2 separate regions of the Homo sapiens genome follow, and region 1 is linked to region 2. The links are contacts of gene promoters, found by promoter capture Hi-C in human tissues and cell types (Jung and others, 2019). All regions are on one chromosome and are shown on one strand. Each heading gives the region's core, a stretch centred on a gene start or on the middle of the fragment in contact. The rest is flanking DNA. Distances are from core to core; before and after follow the strand shown.

What was found. The method cuts DNA at HindIII sites, captures the fragments that hold promoters and counts their contacts. A contact is called where the count stands out against the background at its distance.
Region 1: a contact is called between a fragment that was not itself captured here and the fragment with the promoter of ZNF786 in region 2, in 2 of the 25 tissues and cell types used here (heart right ventricle and pancreas).

Annotation. Positions count from the first base shown.
Region 1 is chr7:148,997,000-149,004,012 of GRCh38, forward strand. It overlaps PDIA4 (protein disulfide isomerase family A member 4), which reads right to left. Exons shown (of 10, transcript NM_004911.5): 10 at 6,063-7,013. The coding sequence ends at 6,795. Among named protein-coding and RNA genes, the nearest start is that of GHET1, 13 kb to the left of the region's middle. The HindIII fragment of the contact is 5,437 bases long and covers 2,473-7,013 here.
Region 2 is chr7:149,086,436-149,093,520 of GRCh38, forward strand. ZNF786 (zinc finger protein 786) reads right to left here and starts at 4,283. Exons shown (of 4, transcript NM_152411.4): 1 at 4,188-4,283. The coding sequence starts at 4,205. RefSeq lists silencers at 4,225-4,524, 4,645-5,134. The HindIII fragment of the contact is 46,746 bases long and covers 1-7,085 here.

The DNA of each region.
Region 1 (7,013 bases), core at 3,941-6,440, 89 kb before region 2:
GCAGAGGTTGCAGTGAGCCAAGATCATACCACTGTACTCCAGCCTGGGCGACAGAGTGAGACTCTGTCTAGAAAAAAAAAGAAGTGGCTGCCAAGCACGAGGTGTAGCAGGTCTCTATGGTCTCTATGGGGTATGCTACTAAGAGGTCAGAGAATGGGGAGGCTTCTGAGCAGGACAGCTCCTCCAGGCACTGTGTCAAGACGACCCATGGCATGAGCGCTGATCCCTGGGCAAGGAAGGGACCATTCTTGTGTTCCAATGCGGTTGAAGCATTTATGCCGTGCACTCAGTAATCCAGCCAAACAACCCTGACTGCAGCCTCAACTGCAGCTCCAGATTGGAATCTTCAGCTTTTCTAAGGGAACTCCTCCATTTTTAAACCTTTGTTACAATCGGGGGATCCTGTGTGCTGGTTTGTTTCTTGGGGTTTTAATACTATGAGGAAAAAAAAAGGGTGATGTTGACTTAGATCAGATGTCTCTAACTAAATACAGCCCTTAAGTGCCTTTCTTTGGCCTATCCAGTGTTGATAAGACCATTTGAGTTAGATCTGACACTTAAAAATTGGGTGATTTCACATAAAAATGCCTGGCTTTTCTTGAAAAACCAAAGAGTAACAGCAGGCTCAGATTCCCACCTGCAACAAGTGCCTGGGGCCAAGCAGCAGCACCCACTTCAGGCAGGACAGAGGACCTCAAGTGCACCCGGGTCGCCACCACTCCCCATCACCCCTTGCCGCACTTAACCTTGCCTGCCAGGTCCCTTGAACACTGGAGGTTTCAACCTCTGGCCTCCAGCGAACCCAACTGTCCATGAGTTCCAAGTAGGAGACTTTTGTAGCAGATTGGGGAGGGAGGATTCAAAGGCATGTTTTCAATTTAACCTGATCTGAGCCTACACTTGCTGTTAATAGATGAGAAAAGCCAGAAAGAATAGATAGAAGGGAATGGGAATGGTGGCTCACATTTGTAATCTCAGCACTTTGGGAGGCCAAGGCAGGCGGATCACTTGAGCCCAGGTGTTTGAGACCAGTCTAGGCAACATAGTGAGATCTCATCTCTACAAAAAAAAAAAAAAACACACACACAAAAACTTAGCTGGGTGTGGTAGTGCACACCTGTAGTCCCAGTTTACTTGGGAGGCTGAAGTGGGAGGATTACCTGAGCCTGGGAGGCCAAGGCTGCAGTGAGCCATGATTGTGCCACTGCACTCCAGCCAGGGGGACAGAGTGAGACCCTGTCTCAAAAAATTAAAAAAAAAAAAAAAAATTGACTCCTTTCCCACGACTCCTTCTCCAAGCTGTTTTCTAAAAAATCCCCTTCTGGCTCACGTCTGTAACCCCAGCACTTTGGGAGGCCAAGGCAGGCGGATCATTTGAGGTCAGGAGTTCGAGACCAGCCTGGTCAACATGGTGAAACTGTCTACTAAAAATACAAAAAAAATTAGCCAGGCATGGTGGGGCATGCCAGTAATCCCAGCTACGCTGAGGCACGAGAATTGCTTGAACCTGGGAAATGGAAGTTGCAGTGACCTGAGATTGTGCCACTACACTCCAGCCTTGGATGACAGAGCGAGACTGTCTTGAAAAAAAAAAAAAAGAAAGAAAAGAAAAACTTCTCAGTTTTTACTTTTGAACTAGAGGTCCTTTGTCCTCCTCCCTCTTCCACAGTCTCTCTGTAATCTAAGATGAGAACACGTTGAATTCAAGAGCTGTGCTCATCTTGCCTTGTGCTGAGCCGAGTGAAAAGAGTGTGGAGCGAGTGGTGTGGCTGACGGGAGGCTCTGGCTTAGGTAAGAGAGCCCCTTCCATATCTGGCCCCTCAAGCCTGGGCTTCCCAAGAATCTACAGTTCTCCATTTACTCATTCAAAAGGTGTGCAGTTACTATGCGCTGGCCCTGGGCGGCCTCCCCGTTCCACCTCTATTTTTTTTTTTTTTGAGACGGAGCCTCACTCTATCACCCAGACTGGAGTGCAGTGGGTCAATCTCGGCTTACTGCAGCCTCTACCTCCCAGGTTCCAGCGATTCTCCTGCCTCAGCCTCCTGGGTAGCTGAGATTACAGGCGCCCGTCACCTCACCGGGCTAATTTTTGTATTTGTAGTAGAGACAGGGTTTCACCATGTTGGCCAGGCTGGTCTCGAACTACTGACCTGAGGTGATCTGCCTAACCTTAGCCTCCCACAGTGCTGGGATTACAGGCATGAACCACCGCGCCCGGCCCTACCTCTCACTTTTGCTTCCCAAGCTTTCTGCAAGATTTAAAAACACTAAGTACTAAAAACTATACTGAATACTGAATAAACATTAAATACAGTCATGTCACTTAGTAACAGGAACATGTACTGAGAAATGCATTGTTAGGCGATTCTGGCATTGTGTGAATATCAGAGTGCATTTCCACAGACCCTGATGGTACAGCCCACTATACACCCTGGCTGTACGGTATAGTGTATCGCTCCTAGGCTACAAACCTGTACAGCATGCACTTGTGCTATTGTAAGCATTTGTGTATCTATGCATAGAAAATGTACAGTAAGAATATGGTGTAAAAGATTAAAACAGTATGCCTATAAAGAGTACTTTCTATGAATGGAGCTTGTCGGACTGGAAGTTGTTCTGGGTGAGTCAGTGAGTGGTGAGTGAATGTGAAGGCCTCAGAGTTTACCGTCCACGACTGTAGACTTTATAAGCACCGCAAGCTTAGGCCACGCTACATTTATTTTTAAAATACGGTAGCGGCCAGCCGTGGTGGTTCATGCCTGTAATCCCAGCACTTTGGGAGGCTGAGGCAGGAGGATCACCTGAGGTCAGGAGTTCAAGACCAGCCTGGCCAATATGGTGAAACCCCATCTCTGATAAAAACACAAAAATTAGCCGGGCATGGTAGCACGCACCTGTAGTCCCAGCTACTCGAGAGGCTGAGGCAGAATAATTGCTTGAACCCGGGAGGCGGAGCTTGCAGTGAGCTGAGAATGCATCACTGCACTCCAGCCTAGGCGACAGAGCGAGACTCCGTCTCAAAGAAAAATAAATAAAAAAAATACGGTAATTTTGCTATGACGTTATGAAGGCTACATCATCACTAAGTGAAAGAAATTTTTCAGCTCCGCTATAATTTTATGGGACCACTGTCATAAATGTGGTCCATCATTGACAGAAATGTCATTACTCAGTGCATGAGTGTACCTCTTTAATTCATTATAGTAGGAATCAAATAATCAATCATGTCCACTCGAGTTTAATCCCTTTGCTGCACCGGGTAGGGTCTGAGGTTGTGCACCTGGTGGCCTGGAGGGTCAGATTTGTCCATGGGGCTCCTGGAGCCCTTCCTAGCTCACAGCCCTTACCCTAGGGCTGGCCCACCTTGACAGGGGATGCCTTGGTCCTTCCAAGGGCAGGTGTGTGCTCAGAAGACAGACTCAGCTGACGAGACTTACGTGTTAGGAGAGCTGATCATTCGGGAACTCGTGGATCTGTGGGATGTGTAGTCAAAGCCAGGGACCTTGAAGTCAAAGGTCCTATCCATCTCCTGGAGGGAGGCCTGGCCTGCCGGGGCTACAGGCTCTGAGAGGCTCTTCACCCAAGAACCCCACGGAAGTTTTATTTGTTTGAGCTCCATTATTTCCCAAGCCAAGTAACTCACAGATTCTACTCTAGTGGAGTGCATACTAACCTCCTTCAGAAGGCTTCAACACGTTCTAGGAGCTGCTGATGCACTGAAGGACACCTGTTCTGAGTTCCGCTCCAGCTTCCCAGTTTACCCACCCTGTGGCTCTGGGGGAAATTCTTTACTATCTGACCTCTGCTTCCTTTTCTATGAGGCAGAGGTGATATGACCTAGACAGGCAAGACCTGTCCTTCCTCCATCATATCCTCAAAAAAAAAAAAGGGGCGGGCAGGGTGGGATAGGCACAGGTTTAAACATGGAGCAACATTTTGTTTTAGGTGGGTGATGAGTAAAGGGTGTGTATTATCCTAGTCTCTTTACTTTTGCATATGCTGAAAAGTTTCATAAGTGACAAAACCCTTCATTCAGAAACCTGGGCATCTTATCCGTCTTCTTGGGTCCACTCACCCACCCTCAGCATCTGATCAGTCTCAGAGCCCTGGAGATCCTGCCCCCTTATCCCTGAGACCCACTGGCCACCCACAATGCAGCCCACCCTCGCTCCCTTGCTCCTGAGGGAGGTGCCACAGCATTGAGAGTGGCCTGCGCTCACATCCCCACTCTGTTTGCTACTCAGCCCCACATCCCCCTCCTTTCTAGCTGTAAAATGAACGCAAGAACCTACCTCACAGGTCACTTAATGAGACAATCTGGCAATGCTCAACATGGGTTCTGGCTTTTGCTTAAGGCGAGATAAATGTTAACTGTTACTCGTCATCAATCTCAATCTCATCACATCACCTCCCTGCTGGAAACCATCAATGGTTCCCTGCAAACTAACATAAAGGTCAAGCTCCTGAATGCAGGCCCCCCAACCTGGCCCTGCCTCTCCTACCCTCAGCAACCCAGCCTCCTTGCACAGTGCTCCGTGGCTGGTGAAGGGGAAGGAGGGAAGTTTGCTTCCTCCTCCTCCTCCTCCCAGCTCCTGAGTCGGCCTCTCCAGGCCTGCAGCTGGGACAGTCCCCTCTTGGGTTCCCATGGCCCCGTACATACCTTCATCGTGGCACCGATCACGCTGGGCTGTCATCAACCTACTTGCCCGTCTCCTTTCTGAGGTCCCTCACAGGTCCAGGGTAAATTCCTTCAGTGGTCCCGCCTTTTGCAGGCAATGTAGAGGGAGCTGACTCAGTTAAGACACTCTTGGGCTACCCGACTTCCAGACTATTTCCAAAGAGGAAACATTTTGATTTTTGCCTCAGGGCCTTTGCACATGCTGGCCCCAAGCCTGGAACATTTACTCCTGGTATTTCCCAGACTTCAATATGCCTGTGACCCTCCTGGGATCTTCTTATACGCAGAATAATTCAGTAGGACCGGGGCCCAGCCTGAGACTCTACAGTTCTGACAGACATCCCAGTGATACCAAAGCTGCAGGTCCCTGGACACTCCTTTTTTGCCATCAGCTCAAGCCAACTTCTCCCGAGGGTCTTGGCTTAGATGTCACTTCAGAGCAGGGCTTCCCTGACACCTACACGAAGTGAGGTCACACTGCTGCTCCTCCCCAGAGAGGGGCTGTCTTCCTCAGGGCCCTTTGAACCCATGGGAGCCCTACCAGGACAGGAATCACTTTGTTCTCATGGTAGAGCGCTGAACGAATGGACTTCTGCTTCCGGAAACAGCCTTAACCGCTGCCCTACCCCAGGTCACAACTCCAAGCTTTTCGCCAGTGTTGAGGGGAAGGGCCTTGAAGAAAGGGCCCATCCCAGGACTGAGGGCCACCTGCTCTCCTGATGTGAGGGAGGGCACGATGGTTGGGGGTGGGGATGGGGGTGGGTGCAGAGACTTCTCATCACACAGGGAACTTACAGAGCACGGCCCACCCACAACTCCCAGCCTGCCCTGGCCAGGCTTAACTCTACAGCGGATCATCTCCCAGCCTGCCCTGGCCAGGCTTAACTTTACAGCGGATAATTGGGTAAGTCCACCAAGGCTGCCCCTTCCTGGGAGACCCAATGCCTCCTGCCCCCACCACCCCCAACACACACGTGTCACTGCTGCAGGAGCTGCCGTCAGCGCAAGGTTTCACCCTTGCCACTCTTCAGCCACAATTGGGAGCAGCTGAGTGACGGGGGAGGCGCGGGGTGAGGACGGTGATGGCTCATCTCGAACAAGCCTGTGATGAAATGAAGCCCAGGTCTTACTCAAATGCCCTGGAACCCTTATGGCACAGAACCACCTCTACACAAGCGCCGGTCCAGCGGAGCCGCCACCCCAGGAGAAGCGCTGAGGGGAGACCTCTGAAGCTCCTCAGCCTAGGTCAGGATGATCTCCACCCACCTGTGTCTGGAAGGAGGTGGGGGCTACTGCCAGGCCTCTGCAGGGCTTAGCTACATCCAGCTCCTGCCCCACCCCGAGGCTCCCAGCAGCACAGATCAGATGTTTTCTAACGCAGTTCTTAACGTTTTTAATCGTGTTTTATTCCATTGCCACAGCCTACTCTACCTTTTCTACCACCCCGCAGTATCTGCCTCTGGGTCCAGGGTCCTTTCTGCTCCGGCACTGGGGGCTCTCAAGAGGTGGGGCTGCCACGTGGGTGGCCTCTCCCTGGAGCTGAGCCCACCCTGGGGGACCCTGGATCATGCCCCTTTGCCCCCAGCCCTTGGTTTGCAGGGAGGCCGCCTGGCGATGCCCAGCCTGAAACAGCACCCCTGGCAGGGCTGCTCAGTGGCAGCTCTCACTTTGTGCTCAACAGGAAGCAATCAGAAACACATACCAGAAGCCAAATCTACGCCAACAATTTCTCAGACAACGAAAAAGCAAAGAGCAAAATCAACATGATTTGGAAAAGGAATTTTAAACCTTAAATTAAAAAAAGAAAACATTTTCACACAGAAGAATTATCTGCTTTGAGAAATAAAGAAATTAGAAGGTGTAAAAAAAAATTTTTCAAACCCCAAATAATGATAAAAATAGATGTATCCTCTGTAAAAATCTGGACTAAACTATTCAGTCATTCATGGTTATTCAGTATTCAGAGCATGAAGTGAAACACCAAAGTATAAAAAATTAAAAAAAAAAAAAAAGGAATCCGAGATACTGTCGTTTGTTGCCGGCCTCGGCGTGGACGCCCCGACCATGGGCCACGCAGGGCGTCTGCCTCCTCCCACCTTCCGCAGACCTCAGGCCTTCAAAGCTCTTCCTTGGTCCTGCTCAGTTTTGTGGCATGTTCTTCTATAAACTTGCTCAAATGCTCCAGATCTCTGTCTCCACCCTCAAATTTAACTGGGTTCTTTTTGTCCCCACTGGGGGCGAAGTAGATGGTGGGGAAGCCCTCCACCTTATAGCGGTCGCTGGGGACGTCGTTGGCAGTGGCGTCCATCTTGGCGATGACCAGGCCCTTTTGGCC
Region 2 (7,085 bases), core at 3,033-5,532:
TTGCCAATATGGCTAAACCCTGTCCCTACTAAAAATACAAAAATTAGCTGGGTGTGGTGGCAGGGGCCTGTAATCCCGGCTACTTGGGAGGCTGAGGCAGGAGAATCGCTTGAACCCAGGAGGCAGAGATTGCAGTGAGCCAGTATCACACCATTGCACTCCAGCGTGGGTGACAGAGCGACACTCTGTCTCACACACACACACACACACACACATACACACAAAAGGTGAGCTGGCATGTGCACAGATCACATGGCAAGAAGAAGCAAGACAGAAGGGGGGATGTCAGGCTCTTTTTAACCAGCTCCCTCAGGAACTAATAGAGGACAGCACCAAGACATTCATGAGGGATCCACCCCCCATGACCTAAACACCTCCCATTACAGCCCACTTCCAACAGCGCAGATCCTTTTTTTTTTTTTTTGAGATAGAGTCTTGCTCCATCGCCCAGGCAGGCTGAAATGCAGTGGCACGATCTCAGCTCACTGCAGCCTCCACCTCCCAGGTTCAAGCAATTCTGTCTTGGCCTCCCAAGCAGCTGGGACTACAGGCGCCTGCCAACATGCTCGGCTAATTTTTGTATTTTTAGTAGAGGCAGGGTTTCACCTTGTTGGTCAGGCTGGTCTTGAACTCCTGACCTCAGGTGATCCACCTGCCTCAGCCTCCCAAAGTGCTGGGATTACAGGCGTGAGCCACTGTGCCCAGCCGCAAATCCAATTTTGACATGAGATTTAGGGACAAATATCCAAACTGCAGATATAGCAACACTTAAATCAGAAATTCATTATTTTAACTTTAAGGAAATATAGTCATTTCTGCTATAATCCTTGTTTTGAAATGTGAATTTGTTCCAACATGATTATTAGGAGACAATATATTACAAAATTTTGCATTTGCTTATGTGCAATTCTGTCTATAAGAAACACTAGATTAGTGGTTCTCAATCAGAACAATTTTGTCCCCTGGCAACATTTTTTATTGTTATAATGTGGGGAAGCGGGGTGGCCTATGGGCATCTAGTGCGTAGCAGCCAAGAATAGTGATAAACATCCTACGATGCGCAGGACAGCCTGCAAAACAGAAAATTATCCAGCACAGGATGTTAGTAGTGGCAAGGGTGAGAAACTTTGTACTATGTGAACAAACAGAACTGGGCTGCATAGACATACGCAAAATGCACACATGCAACACACTTCAAACATCAGATTACCCTGTGTTATGAGCCCTACCCATTCACCTCCGGGGTCACAACTTTCCATCTCATTTCAGATAACCTTCCTTTCACCACTTCACAATAGCTCACAAACTGCAACCCTTGCTATGCCCACTTCCACAAGCACATTTCAGGTAGTTCTTTTAGGTTTTTTTTTTTTTTGAAACGGGGGTCTCTGTTGCCCAGGCCAGAGTGCAGTGGTGCCAACACAGCTTACCATAGCTTTGATCTCCTGGGCTCAAGTGATTCTGTTGCCTTAGCCTCCCGAGTAGCTAGGACCACAGGGATATGCCACCACACCTGGCTAATTTTCTGTAGAGAGGGGTCTCACCATGTTGCCCAGGCTTTTTTTTTTTTTTTTGTCTTTCTTTCGAGACCGAGTCTTGCTCTGTCACCCAGGCTGGAATGCATTGACACGATCTCAGCTCACTGCAACCTCCGCCTCCGAGGTTCAAGTGATTCTCCTGCCTCAGCCTCTCGAGTATCTGGGATTACAGGTGCCCGCCACCACGTCCAGCTAATTTTTTTATTTTTAGTAGAGATGAGATTTCACCATGTTGGCCAGGCTGGTCTTGAATTCCTGACCTCAGGTGATCTGCCCACCTGGACCTCCCAAAGTGCTGGGATTACAGGTGTGAGCCACCACGCCTGGCCTGCCCAGGCTTATTTCAGGCAGTTTTTAAGGCAATTGAGATAATTTATTACTCATTAAAGTGCATAAAACTGCTTTTAGGTTCTTTCAACACATCACTGATTAAAGTTTGAGTATTGTATGTGTAACATTTCTCCCAATAAGCTCTGTGGTTTTTATTGCACAATTTTGCATAGCACTATGATTTTTAGAAATGCATATGCTGTATTATTGCAGAACTGAACGTATGTTTATACTTGTGTTAAAGATACTCATTCTCTCCTCTTCTCTGATTAAAATTCCTTACTTTTAAAACTTTTTTAATTTTTAGAAGTTTAAAAATCCAGAGAGTTACAGAGAAAACTATAAGCATCCTAGTATTCACCACTGACTTAACAAGTTTAACATTTTTCTTCAGAGTTCCTTTTAATGAAATAGAATGTGACCGGTGAAACTCAAGTTCTTGTGGTTCCTCTCTTCAATCATGTTCTGATATTGTCACATTCTCCTTCCTTTGTAAAGGCAAACATTATAAATAATATGGGAACTTTCCAGTTCATTTTAATACATATATGTATCTGTAAATATTCAGTATTACTTTGTGTCTTTTATACGTAAATACTTTATTATACTTGTATTCTTCCCTCAACATTTTGGGATCTGGCCCTGTTGAGTTTCTTTTTTTTTTTTTTTTGGAGACAGAGTCTTGCTCTGTCGCCCAGGCTGGAGTGCAGTGGCGCGATCTCGGCTCGCTGCAAGCTCCGCCTCCCGGGTTCTCCCGCCTCAGCCTCCCGAGCAGCTGGGACTACAGGCTCCCGCCCACACGCCCAGCTAATTTTTGTTTTTGTATTTTTAGTAGAGACGGGGTTTCACCGTGTTAGCTAGGATGGTCTCGATCTCCTGATCTCGTGATCCGCCCGCCTTGGCCTCCCAAAGTGCTGGGATTAGAGGCGTGAGCCACCACGCCCGGCCCTGTTGATCATATATGTAGCTAATTTATTTTAATTTTGTATAGTGTTCCACCGTCTGAATGTCACAAGTTTGTTTGTTTTTGAGATAGAGTCTCGCTCTGTCGCCCAGGCTGGAGTGCAGTGGCGCCATCTCAGTTCGCTGCAACCTCCACCTCCCGAGTTCAAGCAATTCTCCCTACCTCAGCCTCCCGAGGAGCTGGGATTACAGGCGTCCGCCACCACACTCAGCTAATTTTCGTATTTTTTAGTAGAGACAGTTTTTCGCCATGTTGGCCAGGCTGGTCTTGAACTCCTGACGTCAAGTGATCTGCCCACCTCGGCCTCTCAAAGTGCTGGGATTACAGGCGTAAACCACGGCGCCTGGCCTGAATGTCACAAGTTTTAAAATCCATTCTTTTACTCATTAATAATTTATTTTCAGGTCTGTGATTTGGCTGTTTATATCCTTTCCCCATATATATAGGTATGTATATATTTTTGGAGACGGAGTTTCGCTCTTGTTGCCCAGGCTGGAGTGCAATGGTGCAGTCTCGGCTCACTGCAACCTCCGTCTCCCGGGTTCAAACAATTCTCCTGCCTGAGCCTCCCGAGTAGCTGGGATTACAGGCGCCCGCCATCATGCCAGGCTAATTTTTTGTATTTTTAGTAGAGTTGGGGTTTCACCATGTTGGCCAGGCTGGTCTCGAACTCCCGACCTCACGTGATCCACCCGCCTCGGCCTCCCAAAGTGCTGGGATTACAGGCGTGAGCCACCGCGCCCGGCCTAATTCATTTAATAATCAGCAAAAATCCTCAACATTAAAGTTTACAAGATAAAAATACCCTCTAAACCTCGATTTTAAGAAACCACTAACTTAATTTTTTGTATCCTCTTCTACTCTTCCCAACGTATCATCTTACACTCAACCCAAATCACGCTAGACAATAAATTCTGACATTGAAGCCCCCGCCAAACACCATTTCAACCATTCGGAATCTTAAACTTTTTGGAACAGTTGTTCTGATTTCGGTGACTATGATGTAAAACTGGTTGACCTGTAACATCCACCTCTGGCCCCAAACCTTTCTATCCTTTCCACCGTCCGCTCCCCGTCCGCCCGGCATCCTCGCCCAGGCTCCGCCCCGCTCCTAGGTCGGCCTCGGTCCACGCTCGGCTTTGTCCAGGGGTTTGGCCACGGACAAGCCGCGGGAGCGGAGGCCACCTGCTCACCGCAGGGCCCGGAATCCACATCCCCAGCAGAAGCAGCCTGCAGACTCCGTCCTACCCGTGCACCGCGCGCACTCACGGGGACCCCAGGACACGGGCGAGCCCGGAACCCGAGGACCCACCACGACCCCGAAACCGGGCGTCCAAACAGGCTAGCCCGCTTACCCGAGGCGGCTCCGCCATGGTCCCCGCGGTCCCGCCCGGCCCTGGCAAACCCGACCGTCTCCGGCGGCTCCGCAGGAACCTGCCCTGCTGCGCACTGACTCCCCTCCGCTCCGCCCCAACCCGACTCCCACGCACAGCCCGGGTGGCCCCCAAACGCAGCGCCGGCCGGGCGCGGTGCATGCTGGGACCCGGCGCCCGGCCGCGGCTGCCGCTCAGTCCTACAGCGCCTCCTGCGGGAGGAAGAAGCGGCGCTGCCTGAGCGTCGGTCCTCAGAGGAGGGACCCAGGGGCCCGGGCGCCCTCAGAGCAGGCCGCAGCACGCCGGTCTTTGAGGGACCCTCGGATTCCCGGGATCTGGGGAGGGAAGCGGTCAGAGACAAGCTGAGGAGCTGGCCGGAGGGGAAACGGAGGGGCAGGACATGGAGAGATCAGGGACAGGGACAGGGAGAGATCAGGGACAGGGACAGGGAGACGCGCTCCACAGAAACCCAGACTGAGAGGCAGCGAGAGGGGAACCTCCGGTGCGGTTCCTCCCAAAGCCGCCCCCGAGACAGGCTTCGTCTGTGAGGGGGTCCCGGGAATCCAGCGAGGCCGGAAAGTGGGTGGGGGGCGCGCGCTGCCCGCGGTGGCCCGGGGCATCCGTCCCGCCGGGGGCGCGGAGGCCGTGGGGGCCCCATGCTTGTCCCGCCGGGGACGCGGAGGCGGGGTCCGCCCACCAGGTCCGGTCGCCGTGGGTCTAGAGCCCTCCGGGCTCCCCGGGCGGCCACGCTCCTTCCTTAGCAGAGAACGGCCTTGGGCAGAGACCCCATGCGGAAGCCACCCCGGCCTCAGGGCCGCCTGCAGGGACTCAGGGTGGCCCAAGGCTGCGGTCGGGCACCCCGGGCCCCGGCAGGAGACAGAGACAGAGTAGGAGGAGAAGACGGAGGAGGCCATGACACAGGGCGTGAGAAACACGAGAACGCAAGAACAGGGGAGAGGTGGGGAAACCAGGAAGAGACAGAAAGGAGAGAGGGCGAGGAAGGGGGTGGCGATTGTCTCCAGAAAATCAACCTCGCATTCTGTCTTAGTCATGTCTTAGGTGTCAGGCTGAAGTAGCAAAGGAAAAGTGTGTAGTTTGGAGAGGATGTGCATAAGAAATAAAATAGTCCCTGCGTAGGCTGAGGAGCATATACGCATCTGTGTTTGCCACAGAATCGTGAAATGTACATGCACCTTACTGTTTAACGTTTTTTATTTTTACAACTGTTATACAGTACAATTTTTTTTTTTTGGAGACAAAGTCTCACTCTTGTCACCCAGGCTGGAGTGCTGTGGCGCAATCTCGGCTCACTGCAACCTCTGTCTCCTGGATTCAAGCAATTCTCCTGCCTCAGCCTCCCGAGTAGCTGGGATTACAGGCATTTGCCACCACGCCCGGCTAATTTTTGTATTTTTAGTAGAGACGAGGTTTCACCATGTTGGTCAGGCTGGCCTCAAACTCCTGACCTTGTGATCTACCTGCCTCGGCCTCCCCAAGTGTTGGGATTACAGGCGTGAGCCACCGCGCCTGGCTTTTTTTTTTTTTTTTTTTTTTTTTTTTTTGAGACAGAGTCTTGCTCTGTCGCCAGGCTGGAGTGCAGTGGTGGGATGTCGGCTCACTGCAACCTCCGCCTCCCGGGTTCAAGCTATTCTCCTGCCGCAGCCTCCCGAGTAGCTGGGACTACAGGCACGCGCCACCATGCCCGGCTAATTTTTTGTATTTTAGTAGAGACGGGGTTTCGCCATGTTGGTCAGGCTGGTCTCGAACTCCCAACCTCAGGTGATCCACCCGCCTCGGCCTCCCGAAGTGTATACAGTACAATTTTTTAATGTATACTGCTATGAACTTTTTTTTTTTTTTTTTAGACGAAGTCTTGCCCTTGTTGCCCAGGTTGGAGTGCAGTGGCACGATCTCAGCTCATTGCAGCCTCTGGGTTCAAGTGATTCTCCTGCTGGCCGGGCGCGGTGGCTCAGGCCTGTAATCCCAGCACTTTGGGAGGCCGAGGCGGGCGGATCACGAGGTCAGGAGATCGAGACCATCCTGGCTAACACGGTGAAACCCCGTCTCTACTAAAAATACAAAAAATTAGCCGGGCGAGGTGGCGGGCGCCTGTAGTTCCAGCTACTCTAGAGGCTGAGGCAGGAGAATGGTGTGAACCCGGGAGGCGGAGCTTGCAGTAAGCTGAGATCGCACCACTGCACTCCAGCCTGGGCGACAGAGCGAGACTCTGTCTCAAAAAAAAAAAACCAAAAAACAAAAAAACCTGCTTCACCCTCGCGAGTAGCTGAGATTACAGGCGCATGCCACCATGCCTGCCCCGCTAATTTTTCGTATTTTTAGTAGAGACGGGATTTCACCGTGTTAGTCAGGATGGTCTCCATCTCCTAACCTCGTGATCCGCCCACCTCGGCCTCCCAAAGTGCTGGGATTACAGGTGTGAGCCACTGCACCCTGCCATGAACTTTTAACTATTAACTTTTTTTATAACTGTAAGTTATATAGAAGTATAACTTCTATACTACTACATAGAACTCCAAATTTTAACATATGCATAAACATGTAACTGACATCATAATCAGGCTGTTGTAAAACCCCAAAATCAGGCTTGTGTACCTCATGGGCAGCTGAGGCCAAACACTGAGACACCGGTGCTTGGAGATGCAAAAAGGTTTCATTGATTTGGCCAAAGCGAGAAGGCAGCAGAGCAAATCTCTAAAATCTGTCTTAACAAAAGGAAGCAGGGAGTTTTTATGGGGCTAGAGAGTAAGGGAGGGGGAGTTTCAGGGAACCAAGGGGGAAAGTCTGTGTTTCTTCAGTCTCTGATAACACCTTGAGCAATCAGGCTTCTGGGCGTCAGGGGCTGGCCACAACGACCCTGAA